2 separate regions of the Homo sapiens genome follow, and region 2 is linked to region 1. Evidence: promoter capture Hi-C in human tissues and cell types (Jung and others, 2019). All regions are on one chromosome and are shown on one strand. Each heading gives the region's core, a stretch centred on a gene start or on the middle of the fragment in contact. The rest is flanking DNA. Distances are from core to core; before and after follow the strand shown. Region 1 holds the start of SRBD1 (S1 RNA binding domain 1). Region 2 overlaps PRKCE (protein kinase C epsilon).

Region 1 (5,277 bases), core at 966-3,465:
CTTGCTTTGGAGTAAAGCAGATTATTGGATTTGAATCTCAGATCTACAATTTATTAGCTGATGTGACCTTAGATGAATTATTTAACTTCTTTATACCTGGTATTCTCATTTATAAAAATGGTTTAATAGCAATATTGCATTGGGGTAATATGTGAATTATATACATAAATACATCTAAAAGCATTAACTTAGTGCCTGGCACAGGTAAGTAATCAATAAAGGTAAGTTATTACTATTATTATTACATTTGCCCTGGGGAGCTAGAACCCATAGGGGAAGGACTTGAAAACAGATAATAACATACAAATGATAATGTATCAGTGAATATCATGGGAAGAGCTATATACTTTGGAGGGATAAAACAACCTCCATCAAATCCAAAACATGTTTTCATTACTCCCAAACCCTATTGCATAGTCTCAGGTGGGTGTCCGGATTATTCCAGGCTTTCAGTCTAAACCCATGAATTTCTTGGAATTCAGCACTTGAGATCCAAAAGTAAACAATAGATTGGGCAATGTCCTAGACAGAAAAGGCAGTTTTTGTGGGAGGGCCTGTTTTATACTTAAGTGATTACAAATTTTCCTTGACAGCGTGTAGTGGGAGTGACTCTCTTATAGAATTCCAAGGGAAATATTCTCTGGACAGTCCTTATTGGCCTTTAGAGTAGGCCACTACCTACATACTTTAATTTTAGAGAACCTGCTTCAGATTTTATTTTCCCCAGATGTCTGATGTCTAAAATCTTAACAGGCTATTTATTTTTGTGATTTTTTTTTTCTTCCCCAGCTGTAAGGCAAAAATCCCTTGTGGGGAGAGGAAAGTCAAGCTTCAATGCTTTGCTGGCCCACTCTTACTCTCCTCCTCACTGTAGTGTGGCTACTACCTGCATACCCAACCCTTGAAGCTAGACTGTTTTGCTTGGGTGTCTGTTTCCTCTGGCTGTATCTGGTTCCTACTCTTGGTCGTAAATTCCTCCAGGGCAGGACTTATGTCAAAAGACTTTGCAGTATATTAGTTCACCTTTACCCTTACTACCTCTGCAATGATTGGAATGTCCCCTTCAAAAATTCAAGTTGAAACTTGTCATTGTAATAGTATGAAGAGGTGGGACCTTTAGGAAATGATTAGGTCATGAATGAGTTAATTCCATTATCACAGGAGGGTTAGTTATTTCGGGAGTCAATTGGGTTCACATGCCTCCCCCACCCCTACCCCAGTATGATGCCCTCCATCATATTTTGACACAACAATAATGCCCTCTGTCTTGGACTTCCCAGCCTTCAGAACTACAAGCCAAACAAATCTCTTTCTTTATAAATCTACCAGTCTATGGTATTTGGTTACAGCAGCAGAAAATTGACCAAGACAACCCCTTACCATAAACCTGAGTAGCAAATGCAACATCAAAAGTAGGTGAATAGTAAGTAGTACATTATTGTTGTTGATTTCTATGATCTGGTTTCTCTTCCCACAATCCTGAACGGTAAGGTGTTCTCTAGTATTTCTTCAGGACCATAAATTGTGAAGGAGACTGTGATTGTAGTAGACAATTCTAGGCCTTCTGGAACCATCACTAAAGGCAACATACGACTGTGCTAATTAAAAGGAAAAAAAAATCCCTAAACAATCTCGGAAACTGATCTTTCCTGGCCAACAATCTCAGATATAGAAGATTAGATTTACTAAATTTAGAAAGAATCCTTTTTTTTTTCCCCCAATCACAAAAATTATCCAGTAAAATCTATGCTCACTTCCGGTAGATCTGCAACAAGGCACGGTCACAGGTCATTTCAATAACTTGCTAGGCTCTTCAGTACTCAGAGTCCCTGGAAATAAGTCATTAGCAGTGGAAAGCTGCTTTTTAGAATTTTCTAAAACAAATCCATGGGGTTTTGATCTGCTAAATTCGAATGTAGACAACAGCAGCCTTATTTCCCTACTTTTATAATCTAATTTATTTGGCTGTATCTGTGGGCTTAAGAGTTTAGTGTTCTTGGTAAATAACACGTAAAAAAAAAGTCATTTTTCATTTCTACGAACCAGCCCCACCCCGGCGCTCCCTCGGGATCCTCGCTCTAGCCCCGCCTCCGTCCAGCCTGGCTCCGCCCCGTTCGGTAGCGCCGCGCCTTGGAGGTCTGTGGCTAACTTGGTCCGGAAGAAGCGAGGCGGACCTTCTGGCGTTTGAAAAACTTCCGGCGGGAACCGGAAGGTGCGGTGGCACTCACGGAATCTCGGGTCTTCTGACGTGCCGGGCGGGAAGGTGAGCTGTGCGTGCGCCTTGGCGGTCGTCTTGCGGGTTCTCAAGAGCCCGGCGTCCGGGCTCCGGGATCTTTGGGGCCATTAAAAAAGTTCTGAGCGCTCATTTGGGCAATAACACCCCTTTTTTAAAAGTGAGAAGTTCATTACATTTTACTGTCAGCGGTCTCTCACAACCGACCACCCGAAAACCCCTCCTAGCTACCTCGTGACACCTCTTTTCAGCCAAATTGCTGCAGCTCTTAGCGCATAACAGACATAGAAAAGCCTGGGCAAGCCTGTTTTTTTTTTTTTTGAGACGGAGTCTCCCTCTGTCGCCCAGGCTGGAGTGTAGTGGAGCGATCTCGGCTCACTGCAAGCTCCGCCTCCCGGATTCACGCCATTCGCCTGCCTCAGCCTCCCGAGTAGCTGGGGCTACAGGCGCCCGTCATCACACCCGGCTAATTTACCTGGATTGTTTTTATACCTAAAATTATCGGAGGTGGGAGAGGAAGCACCCTTTTCACGGTCATGGTGGCCCTGTCTGAATCAACTGCACCTTCTGTAGTGCGCCTGGCATGTAGGAGGCGCTCAGTAACCGGAGGAAAGGAATGAATTGGGAACTCTCTAGGCAACTTTCCTCGAACCCCTCACGTGACATGTCATTAACATATTGTGTGTGGAATGGGAAACGAGACTAGTCTTGGTGTTCCAGGCACTGGGCTATAGTCCTTTGCCACATATCTTTCCCCTTTGAGTAAACTGTTTCACCTCATTGGGTCTCAGATTTCTGAATATAGCGGGACTGTCTGATCTCAGGTTCTTTCAGCTCTAGTATTTTGTTTTTGTGACTTGGGAATCTGCTAACATTCAAGCACTCTGTTGGTCCTTCATGGAAACTTGTTTAGGTGCTTCTTAAGAAATTGTCCTCCTTTGTTTGCCTTCTTGAATTTAAATTTTTTTTTCCAATTTTAATTTAGTATTTGTTAGTGTGCACGTCCTTTTGCCCCTTTGTCCTGATTTGCAGTCGTCCTAGTTTAGTGGCTCTTCCCTTAGTAACATCATAGCAACCTCCAAATTATTGGTTTGGAATATGCTCATGTGCCTACAGTGATTAAGATAGTTTGAAAGGAGGGAAAAATCCCAAGTCACTGAAGAATAGGAATATTCTTATGTGCCATCACTTCTTCAGAAAGAGATGAATGCAATGTGTGGCATTGCCTAAGAGTGGTGGAAAATAAATGTATATTCCTCTGTAGAGACCATATTTGTACATATTATGTTCATTTAATAGTTGTAGGGCATCTGTTAAGTGCTAGGTTCTATGATATGGAAGTGAATAAGGCACATGCATTTCCTTCTTTCATGGTATTTACTCTCTTGACAGCAGTGCAAGCAATAAACAAGTAAAATAAAAATAATTACAGATTGTGTTATAACCTACTGTATACAGGAAGTAAATAGGCTCCTTTTAAAATATAATTGAGAAACCTATTTTAGGCCTGAAATGTTAAGATCTAAGGGATGCAAGGAGCCAGCCAATTGACAAGCAGGGGGAAGAATACTCCAGGCAGAGAGTACCTGAGGTGGGAAAGAATGTTATGACAAGAGCTGAGGAGCTCCAGCAAGTAGTAAAGGTGGTTAGAAAGGTGAGCAGGGCTCAGTCCGACAGGGCCTTTTCAAAGGCCTCATAAAAATGTGGCTTGATTCTAAGTGAAGGATGGGGTGGGAAGTAATTCGTTGTTTCTAAAGCATATTCTAAATGATCTTGAGTTGATAAGTGGAGAATGAGTTGCAGGGGCAAGAGTGGAAGTAGGGAGGGCAGTTAAGAGGCGAGTGTGGTAGTTCAAGTGAGGGAGGTTGAGGACTAAAGGCTCACTGAAGATCGTGGAGATTCAAGACATTTTGGAGGAGGATCTTATGTGACTTACTAATAGTCTGGATATGTGAGATGAAAGAAAAAAAGATTTGTAACATTTTGACTTAGCAAATGGAACTTTGGAGGATGATAATGTGTTCATTTTCTTGATTGTAGTGATATGTATACATATGTCAAAACATCAAATTTGCACACTTTAAACATGTGCAGTGTATTGCATGTCAATTATATGTCAATGAAGCTGTTAAAGAATTTTCTGGCCAGGCGCCATGGCTCACACTTGTAATCCCAGCACTTTGGGAGGCCGAGGCAGGCAGATCACCTGAGGCCAGGAGTTCGAGACCAGCCTGGCCAACGTGACGAACCCCGTCTCTATCAAAAATAGAAAAATTAGCTGGGTGTGGTGGTACACGCCTGTAATCCCAGTTACTTAGGAGGCTAAGGCAGGAGAATTGCTTGAACCTGGGAGGCAGAGTTTGCAGTGAGCTGAGATCACTCCAGGCTGGGTGACAGAGTGAGACCGTCTCAAAAAAAAAAAAAAATTTTTTTTTTCAAGGTTCTGGCTTAGCAAATAGGTGGGTGCCACTTATTGAGATGGGAAGGACTGGAATAGGAACAGGTTTTAGAGCAAGAAATGGTCATCAAGAGTTCCATTGTGGATGTGTTAAGTTAACTGTGAGACATCTAAATAGTTTCAGAGACAGGCAGTTTATTATAGAAATCTGAATGTTAAAGGCACGGTTTGGGATGGAGGGATTAGGATTGTTAATAAGTAGGTGACATCGGTATGTAAAACCGTGGAGATGGATGAGGTTTTGGTTAATCTAACAAGTTTTATGACACAAAGTAAGAGGATATGGGAGTAGTGGAGATGGAGAAACAGGCCTCAAGAATATTGGTGTTTAAACTGGAGAATACATACTCCTGGGGGTGTACCTGTCGTAGGTAGTTTTAAAGACATAATTTCCAAGTCTTCAGCTTTTGTATATATTCTTTCTAAATCTGATCTGCTTGAAATTGGCTTGTGTGTTCATGCAGATTCTGCTTTCCCACCTTTCCTTTTACATTGATATTTTTAACATTTGTGAAAAGAAATATTACAACTCACTCATCTTTCCATGGTATATTGCTTTCGGGGTGCCTTATAAAGAGGCAGTTGG
Region 2 (5,277 bases), core at 1,253-3,752, 150 kb before region 1:
GACGAGGTTTCACCGTGTTAGCCAAGATGGTCTCAATCTCCTGACCTCGTGATCCGCCCACCTTGGCCTCCCAAAGTGCTGGGATTACAGGCGTGAGCCACCATGCCCGGCCTTAAATTTTTTTTTAAGTAAAATCACCCTGTCTAGACTTCAAACTCCTTGAGAACATGTCAAAGTCAAGAGCAGGTGCTCTAATGCCCCAGTTAAGATAAACCAGGGAATAGTATACTAAGGGTTTTGGTAAAGAGACAAGGTCAGCTCTGGACTCTGGAATCAGACGTGCGTTTCCCTTTATGCCTCTGGACACCAGGACACTCAGCACCAAATCCGATACCCAGACAGGGTAATTATATGATGGAAAGTGGGAACCCAGGGGCAGGAGGGCACCCACATCCTTTCACCGGGTATAATCTCACCAAGGCCAACGAGCTTTCCCCTCTGAATGTCCACTACAAAGCCTCCTTTGGGAATTTGTCTTCAGTCTCGTCTTCAAGAAAATGATTCTAAGTTAATTTTACATCAAGCCAGAGCCCCTAAAAGCCACATCACTGGACCTTGCCAGCTTAGCCACTGGCCAAATTACCTTCATCGTGTCACGCCTTGGTGTTCAATCCTCCACGCTTATGAAGGCTTTTGTTGTCGATGGACCTATGTTTATTATGCCACTGTGTCTTTTATGTAAACTCCCACATGAGAAAATGATTTTAGAAAAATGTGCCAGGAAGAATTTTGCCTCCCCTGAAGAGTTGGTAGACTTTCCCCTTTCTGATCAATAAAGCTGTGCGATTCACCTGGTTTTCATTATGTCCTGGCTGCCAAGAAGTGCAAAACCAAATCCAGTGCTCAACTGGAGCAACCATACTAGCCACTTTCTTTCTTTCTGTGGCCTTGATTTTCTATTTGTGTGTTAATTTTATTGGATAAGGTGGTTTGCAGGAAGATGCCTCCATCCTGAGAAGACAGAGGCAGGTCAGGAACCAAGTAAAAGCAATACATTCTACCCCTAATCTCTTCTCCTTTTCACAGCCTGCCTCCTCCAAGTAACCTTCCCTGATCACCTCACTCCACAGAGATTGCTCCCTCCTGTAATTCCAGCAGCTGTTACAGCCCTTTCCTGCAGCACTTTCAAATGCATCTGCTTTTGCGTGCATAGGTATTGTCCCTCCTAACTGGGACCTAAGCTAAGACTCAAGGGCTGCTCCCATGCCCTTCAGTATCCCCCATAAAATCTAACTACACATTAGAAACTCAAAGAATAGCATAGGCATGATCCATCACCTGCAACAGAAGCAGTGAGGAGACTTAAGCCAGGATTCCTCCAAGAGATTCCACCGCCCCTCCCTGCATCTCTGAATGCCGGACTCCTAAGCATTTACTCAGATTTTAAACAGCACATAATGCCATGGCGAGGATGATCCCTGTGAATGCTTTTAGCAGATTACTCACCACACTGACTAGCTATTTCTGTCTTACTCCTGAGATCATAACCGAGGCACTTCTATACTTACATCAAAGAGTGTAATAACTGACATTTCAGATTACAGCTACGTGGAGGTCTGCCCTTAAGGAGATGGCGCTAATTGCTGAATGTGAGGAACAACAGGCATCTCCCAGCCACCGCAGCCCTTGCTTCCTGCAGGAGCTCAGGTGTGAAAAGAGAGGCTTGGTCTCTCAAGGTCTGAGATGCACGGGAAGCCTCACAGCAGTAGCGTCCCAGCTGGGCCGAGCTCGTTCTCCAGCCCTGCACCGACATGGATAAATCGGAGCCATCTGGCTGGCTCCTCCTCTCACACGTGTGTCAGCTCCTCTCCAGCCTCCAGGCCCCGTCAGCCTAATGTGCTCCTTATGCCCAGAACCTGGAGTCAGCTGTCCTTCAAAACAGAGCAGCTCAAGACATACTAAAACCATGAGCCCACATACCACTTATTTGTCACTTATTTGTCATTTTATCAATACTGCCTTGTTCTGGCATATTCTGTCCCTGTATGTGTCTAGAGAAGGGGTTCTCAATGGAGGGCAGGGGCAGGGGACAGCACAGTGCCCCATTGGGGAGAGGGGAGAGTTTGGAAAGTCATCTTCAAAATCACCTATAAATAACTAAATTCACTTTGTAAATTCAATCACCCTGTGGGAGGCATGACCCGGAAGCTCTCCTGCTATCTCATGAGTGCTGATACTCTCCCACGGTCCCTTCACCATATCACTCCCTTGTTCAAGACAACACGCCGGACTCCCCACAAATTCACATCACCTTCAGGCTGCAATGCACCCTCTGCACTTTACAGGTGAGGAGGCTGAGGCCTGAAGACGCTAGGTGATTCACCCCTAAGACACAGCCTAATAAATCTTCTAGTCAACAAAAATTTATTGAGCATCCACTACATTCCAGGCAGTGTCCTAGGCTCAGGGGACATAACTGTAGAGAAAACAAAGTCCATATTCTTAAAGAGCTTACAGAACTTCCATTCTAGTGGGAGGAAGGAAAAATAAGCAAATAAAGATACATACCTATGTTAGGCAGTAGGGGAGGAAGGGCCTGCAATTTTCAATATAGTGGCTGGCGAAGGCCTCTCTGATGGGGTAACATTTGGGCACAGATCAAAATATGTGAGGGAGTGAGGCAGGAGTTCATCTCAAGGAAAAGTGTTCCAGGCAGAGTTGTCTCAGCAAGTGCAAAGACTCTGAGGTAGGGACAAGCTAGAAGCAGTTTCTCAAACTTTTGTTTAGGGGTTCTCACTGCTGTACCTATTGCTTGTTTTGTAATAATCCTAGCATTCAAGATTCTCCCCAAGAGTAGATAATAATTACAGTAGCAATAACATTTATTAAGCACTTAGTTTATGCCAGGCATGGTTCTAAATACTTTTCATGCAGTAATTCATTTAATGTTCAGTGTAACATCATGAGGTATGTATTACTATTCCCATTTCACAGATGGAAAAACCAAGGCACAGGGAACTTAGGTCATTTACCCAAAGGTTGCCCAGTTTTTAAGTGGTGCAGCCAGGATGCATAGAGAGGCAATCTGTCTCAGCCCATCTAGCTTTCATTCTTGAAAGTAGCCCCTTGCACCCTCAGCCTTCTCTGTACTGGTCTCCCCTGGTTCTTCAACAAAGCCTGTTGATTCCGTCTTTTAGGCCTTGCTTATTTTGTACCTCACTGCCTTTAACATTGTCCCCAGTCATTGAAGTCACTTGGATCCTACATCTGCCCCAGAGCTTCCCTTGACTAGTCCTCAAAGGCAGTTCCTTTTGTTTTTGCCAGCATCAACCTCCGTCAAGACCTGCCTTATGTACATTCAGTTTTGACAGTGGTCCTCCCCTGCCATCCTAAGCACGCTGAGGCTATTTTTTCTCCTCTCATTTCCAATGAAATGAATGAATTCCATGTGGGGGATGGGAATGTAAGGAGTTGGCAATAATGGCTTGTTTAACTGACTTGCATTGAATCTCTAAATTATCACTTTTATTTATTATTTATTATTTTTTAATAGAGACAGGATTTTGCTCTGTCACCCAGGCTGGAGTGCAGTGTTGTGATCATGGCCACTGTAACCTCTAACTCCTGGGCTCAAATGATCCTCCTGCCTCAGCCTTCCAAGTTACTGGCACTACAGCTGCATGCCACCACATCCAGCTAATTTTATTATTTTTTGTAGAGACACAGTCTCACTATGTTGCCCAGACTGGTTTTAAACTCCTGTCCACACGCAATTCTCCTGCCTTGGCCTCCAAAAGTATTGGGATTACAGGCATGAACTATGATGCCCAGCTCTTTATAATAGCTTTATTAATGGACAGTTTACCCACAATCAATTGAACACTCTTTTTTTTTTTTTTTTTTTTTTTTTTTGGAGACAGTCTCACTCTGTTGCCCAAGCTGGAGTGCAGTGGTGCAATCTCAACACACTGCAACTCCGCCTCCTGGGTTCAAGTGATTCTCCTGCCTCAGCCTCCCAAGTCGCTGGGATTACAGGCATGCACCACCTGTCTCTATAGGTGTCTCTAAATTAGCGTGATACAGGTGTCTCACCTGTCTCTAAATTAGCCTGGCTAATTTTTGTATTTGGAGTAGAGATGGGGTTTCACCATGTTGGCCAGACTGATCTCAAACTCCTGACCTCAAGTGATCCACCCGCCTCGGCCTCCCAAAGTGCTGGGATTAGAGGCATGAGCCACCACGCCCAGCTGAACACTCTTTAAATAAGAGTAAACCTTGATAAGTTTTGACACACATATACCCCTGTGAAACCATCACATAATCAAGATTATGAACATATCCTTCAGCCCACAAAGTTTCCTCATAGAGTTTATAATCTCTTGCTCCTGCCCCTCCCACACAACCTCCATCCTGAGGCAACCACTGTTTTACTTCCTATCTTATAGATTAGCTTGCATTTTCCAAAATGTTATATGAATGGAATCATATAATGTGCATTCCAAATTGTCTGTTTTTTTCACTCAGCATAATTATTTTGAGATTAATCCATCCATTCCTTTTTATTACTAAATAGTATCCATTGTATAGATATACCACAATTTGTTTATCCATTCTATCTTGATGAAAGATTGGGTTGTTTCCAGTTTAAGACTATTACAAGTGAAGCTGCTATGAACATTCATGACAGATTTTGAATGGACAAATGCTTTCATTTATCTTGAATTAAGGCCTAGAGTGAAATGGCTGGATCACATGGTAGGTTTACGTTTAACTTTTTAAGAAACTTGCAAAATGTTTTCCAGAGAGACTATACGATCAAACTTTTTCTACATCTGAAGTTTTGTACTTTCCCATCCTCTCTAATCCACCCCACTATTTCCTTTCCAGCAGAACCCCTAGAGCCTGGGAGCAGGATACCCTTAATCCTCTTCTTCCTCTCTGCCCTATCATCTGGTATTTGGAGGCATGCTTTTTCAAAGAAGTCCAGGATCCTAGAAAACAGGGTGGATCTTCATCTGATAAGCAAATGTTTATCCCTGTCTTAACCTGACTCATCCCCATCAGTCTCACCAAAGACTGGAGTCAGCATCATGTTTTAAGAATTCTGTAGCCACTCTTCCCTGCGGTCAGCCTCTATAGTCCTTGGCAGTTCATTGTGTGTCTAGTAAACGCCCAGAAGCCAGTGGTTCCCAGCGAATTAGCTGCAACTCCTTATTATACCCAGCAGTGGGGATGCAAAGTCTCCTCTGATCCTCCCAACACGGAATCCACTCTCCATCCTCCTCCCTTCTACCTTCTCCAATTCTCCGAGTGCCAACCAGTTCCAGCTGCCTTTAA

Evidence for each region. Contacts are between HindIII fragments. The study calls those that stand out against the background at their distance.
Region 2: a fragment that was not itself captured here is called in contact with the fragment with the promoter of SRBD1 in region 1 in 2 of the 25 tissues and cell types used here (bladder and liver).

What each region holds. Positions count from the first base shown.
Region 1 is chr2:45,608,205-45,613,481 of GRCh38, reverse strand. SRBD1 (S1 RNA binding domain 1) reads left to right here and starts at 2,215. Exons shown (of 21, transcript NM_018079.5): 1 at 2,215-2,263. RefSeq lists an enhancer at 2,395-2,564. The HindIII fragment of the contact is 13,717 bases long and covers 1-5,277 here.
Region 2 is chr2:45,755,881-45,761,157 of GRCh38, reverse strand. The region is part of intron 1 of PRKCE (protein kinase C epsilon); the gene reads right to left. Among named protein-coding and RNA genes, the nearest start is that of PRKCE-AS1, 83 kb to the right of the region's middle. The HindIII fragment of the contact is 6,911 bases long and covers 1-5,277 here.